Regions from separate parts of the Homo sapiens genome. Here all the other regions are linked to region 3. Evidence: promoter capture Hi-C in 16 types of primary human blood cells and fetal thymus (Javierre and others, 2016). All regions are on one chromosome and are shown on one strand. Each heading gives the region's core, a stretch centred on a gene start or on the middle of the fragment in contact. The rest is flanking DNA. Distances are from core to core; before and after follow the strand shown.

What was found. The method cuts DNA at HindIII sites, captures the fragments that hold promoters and counts their contacts. A CHiCAGO score of 5 or more calls a contact.
Region 1: a contact is called between the fragment with the promoter of GDPD3 here and the fragment with the promoter of RNF40 in region 3, in 2 of 17 cell types (naive CD8 T cells and naive B cells). The highest score is 7.3, in naive CD8 T cells.
Region 2: a contact is called between a fragment that was not itself captured here and the fragment with the promoter of RNF40 in region 3, in 2 of 17 cell types (fetal thymus and erythroblasts). The highest score is 7.6, in fetal thymus.

Annotation. Positions count from the first base shown.
Region 1 is chr16:30,111,349-30,115,071 of GRCh38, reverse strand. GDPD3 (glycerophosphodiester phosphodiesterase domain containing 3) reads left to right here and starts at 1,535. Exons shown (of 10, transcript NM_024307.3): 1 at 1,535-1,732; 2 at 2,008-2,050; 3 at 2,279-2,414; 4 at 2,504-2,549; 5 at 2,648-2,766; 6 at 2,851-2,940; 7 at 3,551-3,684. The coding sequence starts at 1,594. MAPK3 (mitogen-activated protein kinase 3) reads left to right here. Exons shown (of 9, transcript NM_002746.3): 9 at 364-967. RefSeq lists a silencer at 1,270-1,564. The HindIII fragment of the contact is 12,096 bases long and covers 1-3,723 here.
Region 2 is chr16:31,457,884-31,461,733 of GRCh38, reverse strand. ARMC5 (armadillo repeat containing 5) reads right to left here and starts at 2,233. Exons shown (of 6, transcript NM_001105247.2): 1 at 1,735-2,233. The coding sequence starts at 2,209. RefSeq lists a silencer at 1,685-2,034 and enhancers at 2,225-2,564, 2,563-3,103, 3,751-3,850. The HindIII fragment of the contact is 2,362 bases long and covers 896-3,257 here.
Region 3 is chr16:30,760,906-30,764,663 of GRCh38, reverse strand. It overlaps RNF40 (ring finger protein 40), which reads right to left and starts at 2,342. Exons shown (of 20, transcript NM_014771.4): 1 at 2,304-2,342; 2 at 1,987-2,189; 3 at 1,379-1,546; 4 at 1,105-1,246; 5 at 279-485. The coding sequence starts at 2,118. It overlaps PHKG2 (phosphorylase kinase catalytic subunit gamma 2), which reads right to left. Exons shown (of 10, transcript NM_000294.3): 10 at 3,488-3,758. CFAP119 (cilia and flagella associated protein 119) reads left to right here and starts at 2,602. Exons shown (of 9, transcript NM_001014979.3): 1 at 2,602-3,119; 2 at 3,435-3,466. The coding sequence starts at 2,916. RefSeq lists enhancers at 2,024-2,133, 2,254-2,513, 2,001-2,638, 2,594-2,773, 3,364-3,513 and 3 more and a silencer at 3,050-3,279. The HindIII fragment of the contact is 4,015 bases long and covers 705-3,758 here.

The sequences.
Region 1 (3,723 bases), core at 286-2,785, 650 kb after region 3:
GGAGCTGGGGTCTTGCTATGTTGCCCAGGCCAGTCTCAAACTCCTGGGCTCAAGCGATCCACCACCTCAGCTTCTCAAAGTGCTGGGATTATAGGCGTGAGCCACTGTGCCCGGCCGAGACAGTTCTAATAATGAAAGCATAAAGCCCTAAGCATTGTTCTAAGAGGTTTACATGTATTAATTCCTTTAATCTTACAGCAGTACCTCAAGCTAGGTACTATTATTATCTCCATTTACAGATAAGGAAACTGAGACCCAGCCTATCCAGCTGTGAGGGTGAAATGAGAGATGTTGAGGTCAGGGCTCCAGTGGGTCTGCCCGGGGGGTGCTAACGACTCCTCTTCTGCCTGCTTCTCTCTTTAGGACCTGCCTCCTGCCTGCCCCTCTCCCGCCAGACTGTTAGAAAATGGACACTGTGCCCAGCCCGGACCTTGGCAGCCCAGGCCGGGGTGGAGCATGGGCCTGGCCACCTCTCTCCTTTGCTGAGGCCTCCAGCTTCAGGCAGGCCAAGGCCTTCTCCTCCCCACCCGCCCTCCCCACGGGGCCTCGGGACCTCAGGTGGCCCCAGTTCAATCTCCCGCTGCTGCTGCTGCGCCCTTACCTTCCCCAGCGTCCCAGTCTCTGGCAGTTCTGGAATGGAAGGGTTCTGGCTGCCCCAACCTGCTGAAGGGCAGAGGTGGAGGGTGGGGGGCGCTGAGTAGGGACTCAGGGCCATGCCTGCCCCCCTCATCTCATTCAAACCCCACCCTAGTTTCCCTGAAGGAACATTCCTTAGTCTCAAGGGCTAGCATCCCTGAGGAGCCAGGCCGGGCCGAATCCCCTCCCTGTCAAAGCTGTCACTTCGCGTGCCCTCGCTGCTTCTGTGTGTGGTGAGCAGAAGTGGAGCTGGGGGGCGTGGAGAGCCCGGCGCCCCTGCCACCTCCCTGACCCGTCTAATATATAAATATAGAGATGTGTCTATGGCTGACCCTGGCTCTGTCTGTGTTCGCGACGCCCCCGCCCTGCCCCGTGCGGCTCTGAGGACAGACTTGACTTGGGCTTTCAGGGGCCTGGTGCCCTTCACTCCCAGCTGCCCAGGGCTGGGGACGGGGCTCTGGAGAGCTCCAGACTCCTAGAAAGAAGGGGGTCAGTTTTCCCCTTAGTCACTGTCCTGTCCTCTCGCTAATGGCTTCCTGTCTAACTGGCTGGGGGTGATTCGGGGTGACTCAGGAGCACCCTACACACCCCTGGATCCTCTGAAATGGCAAGGGGTAGGCATGTTGGATGCGCTGGCTACAAGTACCAGTGAGAGGGAGAGGTCCTGACAGTCCTGGGTGGTTTTTACTCCCCTCATGTAGCCCAGGACGGGGCTGCTGGGGGCTGGGAAGGGCCTGGGGATATGAGAGCCAGGGCTACTTGCCTCACCTCCTGACACTACCCCAGCTTCAGCCGAACCCTGCAGCCTGGCTCCAAGCCAGCCCAGCGGCAGGCTCAGCAGGTCCCAGGGGCGTGGCAGTGGCCAGTAGTAGAGCCGGCCCACACTGGCTAGGCAGGCAGCACAGTCCCGCGGACGGCTGAGCGTGTGGCTGCAGGAGCTTCTGTGGGAGTACGGTCATGAGCCTTTTGCTGTACTATGCCCTCCCTGCCCTGGGCAGCTATGCCATGCTCTCCATCTTCTTCCTGCGCCGGCCTCATCTGCTGCACACGCCCAGGGCTCCCACCTTCCGCATCCGCCTGGGGGCCCACCGAGGAGGTGAGCCGGGTAGGGGTGAGAACAGGTGCCAAAGTGGACAGCACAGAGGGGTAGGTCCAAGGGGGCATGCTAGAAACGGGGCAGGGACCAAGAGAGAAGGAGAGCGAAGTGGCAGGGCAGGGTGTGGACGAGGAAGAAGATGCTGGCGCAGCCTGGGCTGGCTGGGGAGGTGAGGCCAGAGGGAGGATGGAGCCCAGAGAGGGAATGTGGGTGATGAGGTTGGGCCAGGCCCCTAGACCCCAAGCCCCAGAGGCCCACTCCAGTGCCCCCCACAGGATCTGGAGAGCTGCTGGAGAACACCATGGAGGCCATGGAGAAGTGAGTGTATCTGCCCCTGCCCAGGCTGCCATGTGAGGGTGTGCAGGTCGTGGACTGCATCACAGCAAGGGACGCCATTCACTTCCTAGCTGGGTGACTGGCGCCCCCTGGAGGTGGCCTGCACATCCCGCCACGAACTCCGCTCTCACATTCCCGGCCACCTCCCAGCCACCATGCCCCTCATCCCAGTCCCCTGCCCCTGCCCCCCGCTGACCTTCACCCCCACAGCTCCATGGCCCAGCGCTCGGACCTCCTGGAGCTCGACTGTCAGCTGACACGGGACAGAGTGGTGGTGGTGTCACATGATGAGAACCTGTGCCGCCAGTCGGGCCTAAACAGGGATGTGGGCAGCCTGGACTTCGAGGTGGGCCCTGCCCTGACACCCCAACCCCCACCCTGAGAGTCACCATGCCCAATGCGGGCCTCTAGTGACATCCTTCCTGTCCTCCCCAGGACCTGCCCCTCTACAAGGAGAAGCTGGAGGTTTACTTCTCTCCAGGTGAGAGCAAGGGCTTCGAGCCCTGCCTGGGCCATGCCTGCCTTCCTTGGACCTCCGCCTTGGCTTCCCTCTGACCCCTTTTCCCACACCACCCCCAGGCCACTTTGCTCACGGGTCAGACCGGCGCATGGTTCGTCTGGAGGACCTGTTCCAGAGGTTTCCAAGGACACCCATGAGCGTAGAGATCAAAGGGAAGAACGAAGAGCTCATCCGTGAGGTGGTGCTGCAGGCAGGGCTAGGGCGGCCACCGGGGGCGTGAGAGAGGCCTGGCTCTCCCTTCACCTCCTTCTCCTCCTCCCAGATAGCAGGCTTGGTGAGACGCTATGACCGTAATGAAATCACCATCTGGGCCTCGGAGAAGAGCTCGGTCATGAAGAAATGCAAGGCTGCCGTGAGTCCCCCCACCCCTCCCCCGTCCTCTTCCTCCTCCAGGGGCCCCTCCTCCCCAGAGCTGGAGCCCACCCAGCATGGGGACCCGAGCTAGAGGGGTCTGGGAGAGTTCCCAGTGGCGTGGCGGTGGCAATGAAAAGGGTGTGAACTCAGGCCTCGAACACAGAGCCAAGATGTGACTTTTGTTTTTTTTCTTTTTTGAAACACAGTCTCTCTCTGTCGCCCAGGCTGGAGTGCGGTGGTGCGACCTCGGCTCACTGCAACCTCTGCCTCCTGGGTTCAAGCGATTCTCATGCTTCAGCCTCCCGAGTAGCTGGGATTACAGGTGCACGCCACCACGCCCAGCTAATTTTTGTATTTTTAGTAGAGATGGGGTTTTACCATGTTAGCCAGGCTGGTCTTGAACTCCTGATCTCAGGTGATCCACCTGCCTCAGCCTCCCAAACTGCTGAGGTTACAGGCGTGAGCCACCACACCCAGCCCCAAGATGTGACTTGGATCCTGCAGGTAGTAGGGCCTCTGGAATGCCCACCACGGCTCCCCTGCAGCTCATGCCTCCTCTCTGCTTCCCCAGAGCAGACAGATTCTCATGCCTCTCCTTGCCTCCCCAGAACCCCGAGATGCCCCTGTCCTTCACAATAAGCCGAGGATTCTGGGTGCTGCTTTCCTACTACCTGGGGCTGCTGCCCTTCATCCCAATCCCTGAGAAGTTCTTCTTCTGCTTCCTGCCCAACATCATCAACAGGTACCAGTGGGGGGCGGACCTCAGAAAAACTCCCCACTG
Region 2 (3,850 bases), core at 827-3,326, 700 kb before region 3:
GAGTTCAAGACCAGCCTGGCCAACGGGGCCAAACCCCATCTCTACTAAAAATACAAAAATTATCTGGGCATGGTGGTACACGCCTGTAATCCCAGCTACCCGGGAGGCTGTGGCAGGAGAATTGCTTGAACCCAGGAGGCAGAGGTTGCAGTAAGCTGAGATCGTGTCACTGCACTCCAGCCTGGATGACAGAGCAAGACTCCATCTCAAAAAAATAAAAAGAAAGAGGCTAACACTCGGGCTGGGTCTGGAGGGGTACACAGGAAGGTATTTGCCAGAAGCACGGTGGATGGGGGTGTGAGAAGGCATTTCAGGTTTGGAAGCAGCCTTTCCAAAGGCCCAGAGGTAAGATACAGTGTCTGTGAAAGGCTTCAAATGTCAGGCCAAGGGGTCAGGACTTGAATGTGAAGGCACTGGGGGCCACACAAGGGTTTTATGAAGGGGAGTGACACGATACAATCTGACATCCATAGGGAGAATGCATTATGGGGAAAGAATAGGAAGGGGGGAGTCAAAAGGCTGTCATAATAGTCCAAGCATGAAAAGACAATAGCTTGAACCAACCCAGCTACTGGCATCACACAGCACAGAGATACCAGTCTCTGGGCACACAATGGAAGTAGGAAGAGAGAGAAGCAGATAAATTCAGAAGATATTTAAGATGAAAAATAGTAGCTGAATGATGGGGGTTATTTAATAACCAAAGCTCTTGTCAAACATATATGGTCCAGATACATTTTATGTAAATTTTAAATATATTAATGCTTCCCTTTATCCGAAAAGTTAAGATGTCATCAAAACTAGCATAATTTCGTGGAAGGCAGGTAGTGACATGTAAACTGCTTTCACACATTGCCACTAGGAGGCACCAATTTAGCTGGTAAACAGAAAAGCTTATGTTTTGCTAGGATTTGTTCTTACTGTGCTGGTTTTAATTATTTTTATTTATTTTTTCCTGCTTCCTAAGCGACTACTGATTTGTTTGGTTTTCTAAGATACGAGGTCTTGTTACGTTGCCCAGGCTGGAATGCAGTGGCTATTCACAGGCAGTCATTGTTCACTGCAGCCTCAACCTCCTAGGCTCAAGGGATCCTCCCGCCTCAGCCTCCCAAATAGCTGGAACTACAGGCGCGTACCACTGCACCCAGCTTATGCTAGTTTTTAATAACTTGAAATACGTATCATGCTTAGAATATTTGCATATTCGTGCCATATTTGTACTTCGTTTTCTCCCCACTCTGATTTTTTTAGGTAGCTATTATTGCCCCATTTTACAAGGAATCCTAGCCTCGGAGGGGTTAGGTGACTTTTGCAGATCTCCCTTTCTGAACCACTACACCTTCCAGCTCATCAGTGGGGCTTCAGAACCTTGCACAGGGCCGGACACATAGTTGGGCACTGAATGTCTGCTATGAACATCATAACTGGACGGTAAGAATCATCTGAAAAAATCACCAAATAACTCTTTGGCCTCCGCTAGTCCAGCTTCGAAAGAAGTCCTCAACAACCAATTCCTAGATAATGGCTACAATTATCTGGTCTGGGAGGGCTCTCTCTCATCTATAGAGAGTGCAGTGACGTCACGGGGCACAACAGATTGAGAAACAGGAGCGATGCGCCATCACAAAGCACGTTATTCCGGGATAGGACACAAAGAACTCCAGACTGCCCGGGTCTAGAGAGCAAGGGAGTTGCAAACCTAATCTTTCTAGGAAACGGGGGCGGAGCACTTACCCAAAGGGAGTATGCCTCCGAGTCTGCGCACTTCGGTCCGGCACGCCCCTTCCGTACAGCAATCGGCTAGGATGCTGAGCGCCAAGTCCAGCGTCTTGCGCAGGCGCACTGGCGGCGTAGGACTAGACGACGACACAGCGGAGGGGGCGGGGCCCGACGCGGGGGCGGGGCTAGAAGCTCCCGACGCGGCCGACGAGGGGGCGGAGCCGGGGCCTGCCTGGGACGGGGCGGAACCCGCTGCAGCCGCTCGCCGTAGCAGCGCGAGTAGGGGGCGGAGCCCGCCGCGTGCCCGGAAGCGCTCGATTCCCCCCGCTGCCTTGATGTGGCGCGTGCGGAGGGCTAGGAGCGCGCGGCTCAGGGGTGTCTCGTTGGTCGCTGGGTCCTTTTCCCCACCCAGAGCCTCCCCGGCCGCCGCCGCGAGCTGCGCGAGGCAGAACGAGAGCGAGTCCGTGAGGGTTGGCTTCGCAGCCGCCATCTTGGCTCGGGCCTCAGACTCCGCCCCGCTTCTCGCCGCTGATCCCAGGGAGCGGAACTGGAAGACAGGGAAATCGTCGGGCACCGCCTCGCTGACGCTGTTTAGCGCCACCGCAGTGATGCAAGTCGGAAGTTGTAGTTCTCGACCCCGGAAGTCTGTCCTTGCACACGAGGCGCGGCAGTACCTTAATCGCAGCGCATCCTGGGACGTGCGGGCGGTGCATGAGGGAGATGTGGTCCGCGTCGAGCTTCTCACGCCTACCTCGGGAAGCGCTGGAAACTCTTCCAGGGCCCTCCAGGTGGGCCAGGGCCTCCGAACAGCCCAGAAGTCCGACCACGGAGCCTTCGTGCCGTGCCCCGCCCCCGGCGTGCACTCGGCGGGGACCGCCTTTTCTCCTCTAGGCTCGCTTCGCTGCCCCCCAGCGGTGGTGCGGCCCGGCCTTGGGACGGACTCCGAGAACCCCGAGCCGGGCCGAAAGTGCGGGGTCCTGACCGCGCCGCAGACGGGGAGCCCTCGCTCGGTCAGAGGAAGAAGAGGGTTAAACCTACCGAGAACGTTCGCTGCCGCTTCCTAGAGTGACGGGCTTGTGGAATTTTCCGTTTCCGGAGCTGGACCCCGGTGTCCCGAGTGTCCTCCGCTCTGGACGTGCTCGTGAGCTCAGGAGCTGGCATCTAGGAAACGGGGAGTTCTTCACTCGCAGCGCAGTCGGCCGCGCCAGAAGAGGCGAGGGAGAATCCGGACGGGGCGGGGCGGCGGGGGAGCGGGACATTCGCGTCCCGGGGAGCCCCCAGGTCACCCCTGGATTGCGAGGTGGCTCCGCCTGAGCAGCCCTTCCTGGTGTGGTCGGGGCAGCTGCCCGCCCGGAAAATGGTCAGGCTCTAGCCCTGGGGAGGAAGAAGCCTTTGCCAAGAGCAACCGTCTACAAGCCCCAAAACCTGCGAGTGCCGGAAATGTGGACTGACCACAGCCTGCCTCCCCGGCTTCATTCACCACCAAGGCAGCCCCTCTGGTGACAAGCCTTACCGTTGTCCGGGTTATGGCAGAAGCTTCCGATGTGGCTCTGATCTGGTTAAGCACCACTGGGTACACACCGGTGAAAAGCCGTACTCCTGCCCCGAGTGTGACCATCGCTTCGGCCCTATGCCTGTGCCTAGTGTGGTAAGACTTTCAGCGTCAGCTCCAACCTGATCCAGCACCAGCGCGCTCACACCGCTAAAAGCCTTACCGCTGAGGGGACTGCGGCAAGAGTCTCAGCCTTGGCTCCACCCTGTTGCAGCACCTGCGCTCCACATGGGTGAGAAGGCCTCTAAGTGCCTTGTTTGTAGTAAGAGTTTTGTGCACAGTTGGAATCTGCTGCGGCACCAGCACAGTCACAAAGTCCGGAAACCTGATGCTTGGTGGTGAGTGTGGCCAGACCTTCGGCCACAGCTCCCACCTGCCCATCCACTAGGCGGCCCACAGCAGCACCCCTGCGTCTGCCTGCAGTGTGGCAGGGCCCTAGCGCAAAGCTCCAACCTGGGCCAGCACCAGCGGACGCACTAGGGCGGCAGCCTCTGCAAATAGCCCTGGCTTCAATTTTAGCTGAAACTTCAGCTCTGACTTTGGTTCGGACTTCAAGGAAATGGAAGGAACCAGGATCTC
Region 3 (3,758 bases), core at 1,093-3,592:
GATCCGCAACCCACACCAAGTGCTCCAGAGGGGCCTCTGGCCAGGAGCCTCTACCGGCATCAACAACTCCTCCAACCCATCTCTCTAGCATTCAATCCCGGAATCAAAGTTGGAACCCCCATCTACAGCCTAACCTACCTCTTCCAAGAACATGGCTGATTTATTCCTTGGGAAATTCTGGCCGCCCTTGGACTCGGGCATTAGGGGAATCAGGAAGGGGTGCCATCAAGATGCAGGTGGGGATGGACACCCCTTCAGTATGGGCACAAAGAACCCACCTCGGCTGTACACTCGCTGACAGAGTTCCTCCACCCGGCGCTGTAGGCGGTCTGAGGCCTCTACCACACGAGACACAGCTGCCTTGGAGAACTCCATTCGGCCTTGCAGCTCCAGCTCCACCTCCTCACTGCTGCTGGCACCCAGTGCCACCACAAAAGCCAAGGCCGGCTCACTGAGAGGGGGCCGCAGCTGCATCAGCAAGGGGTCTGGAAGGAATGGACAGACCCTCATGAGGATAAGAGCAGCAGTTACTACCACTCTGTACCAAGTTCCAGACTGAGCCCTTCAATACTCATGGTTCACTTAATCAACACAACCTATAGTGCACTATTATCTCCATCCTGAAAGTGAGACAAATGAAATTCAGGGAGGTAAAGTAATTTCCTCAAAGCTACAGAGTTGCGTATCACATCCTCAGGGAAGCTTCCTGTACTTTACCAATATAATTAGAATCACACGCACATGCATGCACACACAATCATTCCGTTTCAGGAGCCCCAGTACTTTCTGCTTACTATGTTTATAATTTCCTCCCTTATAGCAAGTGCAACACTCATTTCTAGGAAGCGTCAAATACATATTTAATACTCAACCATAATACTGTTTTGAAACAAATGGGTGTCAAAACATGAATTGCTCTATAAACCAAGTTAGTCAGAGTCTAAAGCCTGTGTTTTTGTGCACTGCACTTTACTGCCCAAACATGAAATCCATTTCGTGAGAAGTAGTAAGATAGGCAATTCAGGGGCCCAACACCAAAGTCCCCTCCTCCCCAGGACTTCTCCCAGAACTTAAGCTCCCCAGATCCCAGCACTCTGGTCCTACCTCTCAGCTCTGATGTCCCCGGCTCTGGGAGAGGAGTCCCATCACATGTTGGCCCCTCCTGGGTCCCAGGTGCCTCAGGCGCTGAAGACAGCTCCCCCTGGCTCTCATGGCATCGGAGAAGGGCTTCCACAGTTTCATCCAGCTGGAAGGAGAAAACATCAAAAATGTTATGAATCCCTTAGTGCTTTCCAACATGATACTCCTTTCCTAGCAGGGGAATCTGGGGATTGGCAGCTGAATCAAGGCCTGGTCTTTGAAAGCAGAAGGTATCCACCTGGGCCCAGTAGCGATTGACGATGAGGAGTGTGGCATCATCTGTGGCCTGCCGCTTCTCCAACTTCTCAATTCGTTCTCGGAGTTCATCTTCACAAGCCTGCCGTTGTTCCAGCCGCTCTGCCAGTTTCTTGTTCTTGAACTGTAGTACCTTCAGGTCCATCTCCTCCTACCAAAGGAAACAAAGGGGCCGACGAGAGCGTCAAGCAGGGCCCACAAACCAATCACAGAGAGAGAAAGAGGAGCAGAGCATCTGCAATGCATGGGAGATGGAGGTATTCCCACACTAACCGCTAACAGAATCTAAGGAGGCTCAGACAACACACAGCGAAAGTGTCTTTGTTGTGAGGAGGCTCACGTTGTTTCTGCCTGTCCCCTTGTAAATCCTTAGTCTTTGACAAGTCACACGCCCCCTGGAAACCTGTTTTCCTATCTGTAAAGGGAAGACAGGCGTCGTGTTCTGAGCTTCTTTCTAACCTTTCTTTCAAGGTCCTGTAACGCGGACCTTGCTAAACTTGGGGAAGTGGGTGTAAGATTCCGCACAGTTTGGCCAGAGAACAGAGGGAGGGCTCTGGGAAGTTCTGAGGGTTAAGGCAAGAGCCCACGAACCGTGGAAGAGATGCCTCCAAGACGAATGGGCTCGATAAGAGTCGTGGTGGTCTTCTCCTCACGACTCAGCTTCTTTTCCGGGGGCCCTGAGCCCCCGTCGCCGGCGGCGCGTTTGTTGCCTGGCCCAGACATGGCCGCGGCGGCTGGAGCGATGCAGGGTCCCCTGAGGGGCGTCAAACGGGAGGAGGCGGTACTTCCGTCACCTGCAGAAGACACAGAGCAGAGATGTGGGAACGGCTGGTGTTCCACAGCCCCAAACACCCTCCACCCTGCACACACCTGCTGGATCCCGTCCCCCCCGGCGCCAGAGCCCTCACCAGCAGGAGGGTCAGCCTAGCGCCGCCATCTTGGATTTCACCGGACGTCACTGGGCGTCACTGGACGCCACTGCCCCCCCCCCAACGGTGCGCAGGGCGCAGGCGCCAAAGGCAGCCCCGGATGTGAGGAAACTTCTTTATCTTCTGCTTCTATTGGTTACGCTTGGTCCCGCCACTCGGGTCCTCTGGCTTCTTCCCAAACACCTCCTCTTTCTCTCGGTGATTGGCCAAGAGGCAGTTCCCATAGTAACTGACACCGCGCTCCCACTTCCCAGCCTGGAGGACAGCACCGGCCCTCGTATTAGCAACCTGGAAGAGAGGGCGCCCAGGTGGGCACTCGCAACTTCTCACGTATCTGCGCGTTCTCTTCGCTCCCACTGGCGTGAGCCTGCGCTTTCCGCCTTCCTTCCCTCACAAGCCCCCTTGGCAACCGTCGCCGTTGAGACGGAGGGAGACGCCCCCACGGATTCGCCCCGCCGCGCCTCTCCGCGCGTAGATTGGCCGGAGCGAGGCGAACGGGCCCGGCCTTGGTAGCCGCCGACCGAGCGCTGGCTGTCCTGGAACCTAGGCGGCGGGAGCCCGGGGCGCCTCGCGGCACGGAAGAGCGGCGAGATGCTCAACCGCAAGACCAGCCACTTTTTGGGAATGAGGGTGCAGTCGGAGCTTGAACATCTCTCCGAGCTGCGGCGGGAAGCGGGGAAGGATCGCAGCTCAGTGCATGGGTCGGCCGCGCGGACGCGTGCGAGTGTGCGGACTCAGTGGACGACGGCGGCGGCGGCGAAAGCGGATGAAGACCCCGGAGCCAACTTGTTTCCGGTGAGGGCGGGACAGTCTGGTCTGCTCGTGAATATTTATAAACCGGCTCCCCCGCAGGCGCCACCTGTCATTATGCTTACTAACGTTCGGGACGTCTCCCGGGCTGCTTGGGCGAGGAGAGGCAGGGGTGTGTGACCCCGGTGGTTACTGTGCTCGCGTAGAGCACCTAGGGCCTGCTGAAGCCCTCCCTCGCCCGCGCCTCTCCTTAGTCCTTGAGATGAGATGGCAAGTTACAGCGGCTTCTCCGGCCTGCTGGAGATTCGCTACGGGCCAGGACACCGCAGCTGCCTTCCCCAATTCGCTTTCTTTCCGCAGCCGCCGCTGCCCCGACCCCGGATCTGCATGTGGTGAGTGTGAAGAGACAAAAATTACACTGAATATTTGCGTTCTTTATTGTCTCCCCAACAGTCCTGTCTGTGGCCAGGGCATCCCCATTTTACAGATGAGACTGAGGCCTGGAGATGCAATTACTCCAGGTGACTGGAAGTTGGCTTTCCAGCCTCTCCAGTCCAAAGAGGAGGCAGTGTGAGAAAAAAAGAGCCAAAGACAGAATGTAAATGGAGTCTCATGGCCGCTAAGGAGTATTGTACAGAGGGGGACACTGAGGGCCACAGGGAGTACTTGACCAAGGTCATACAA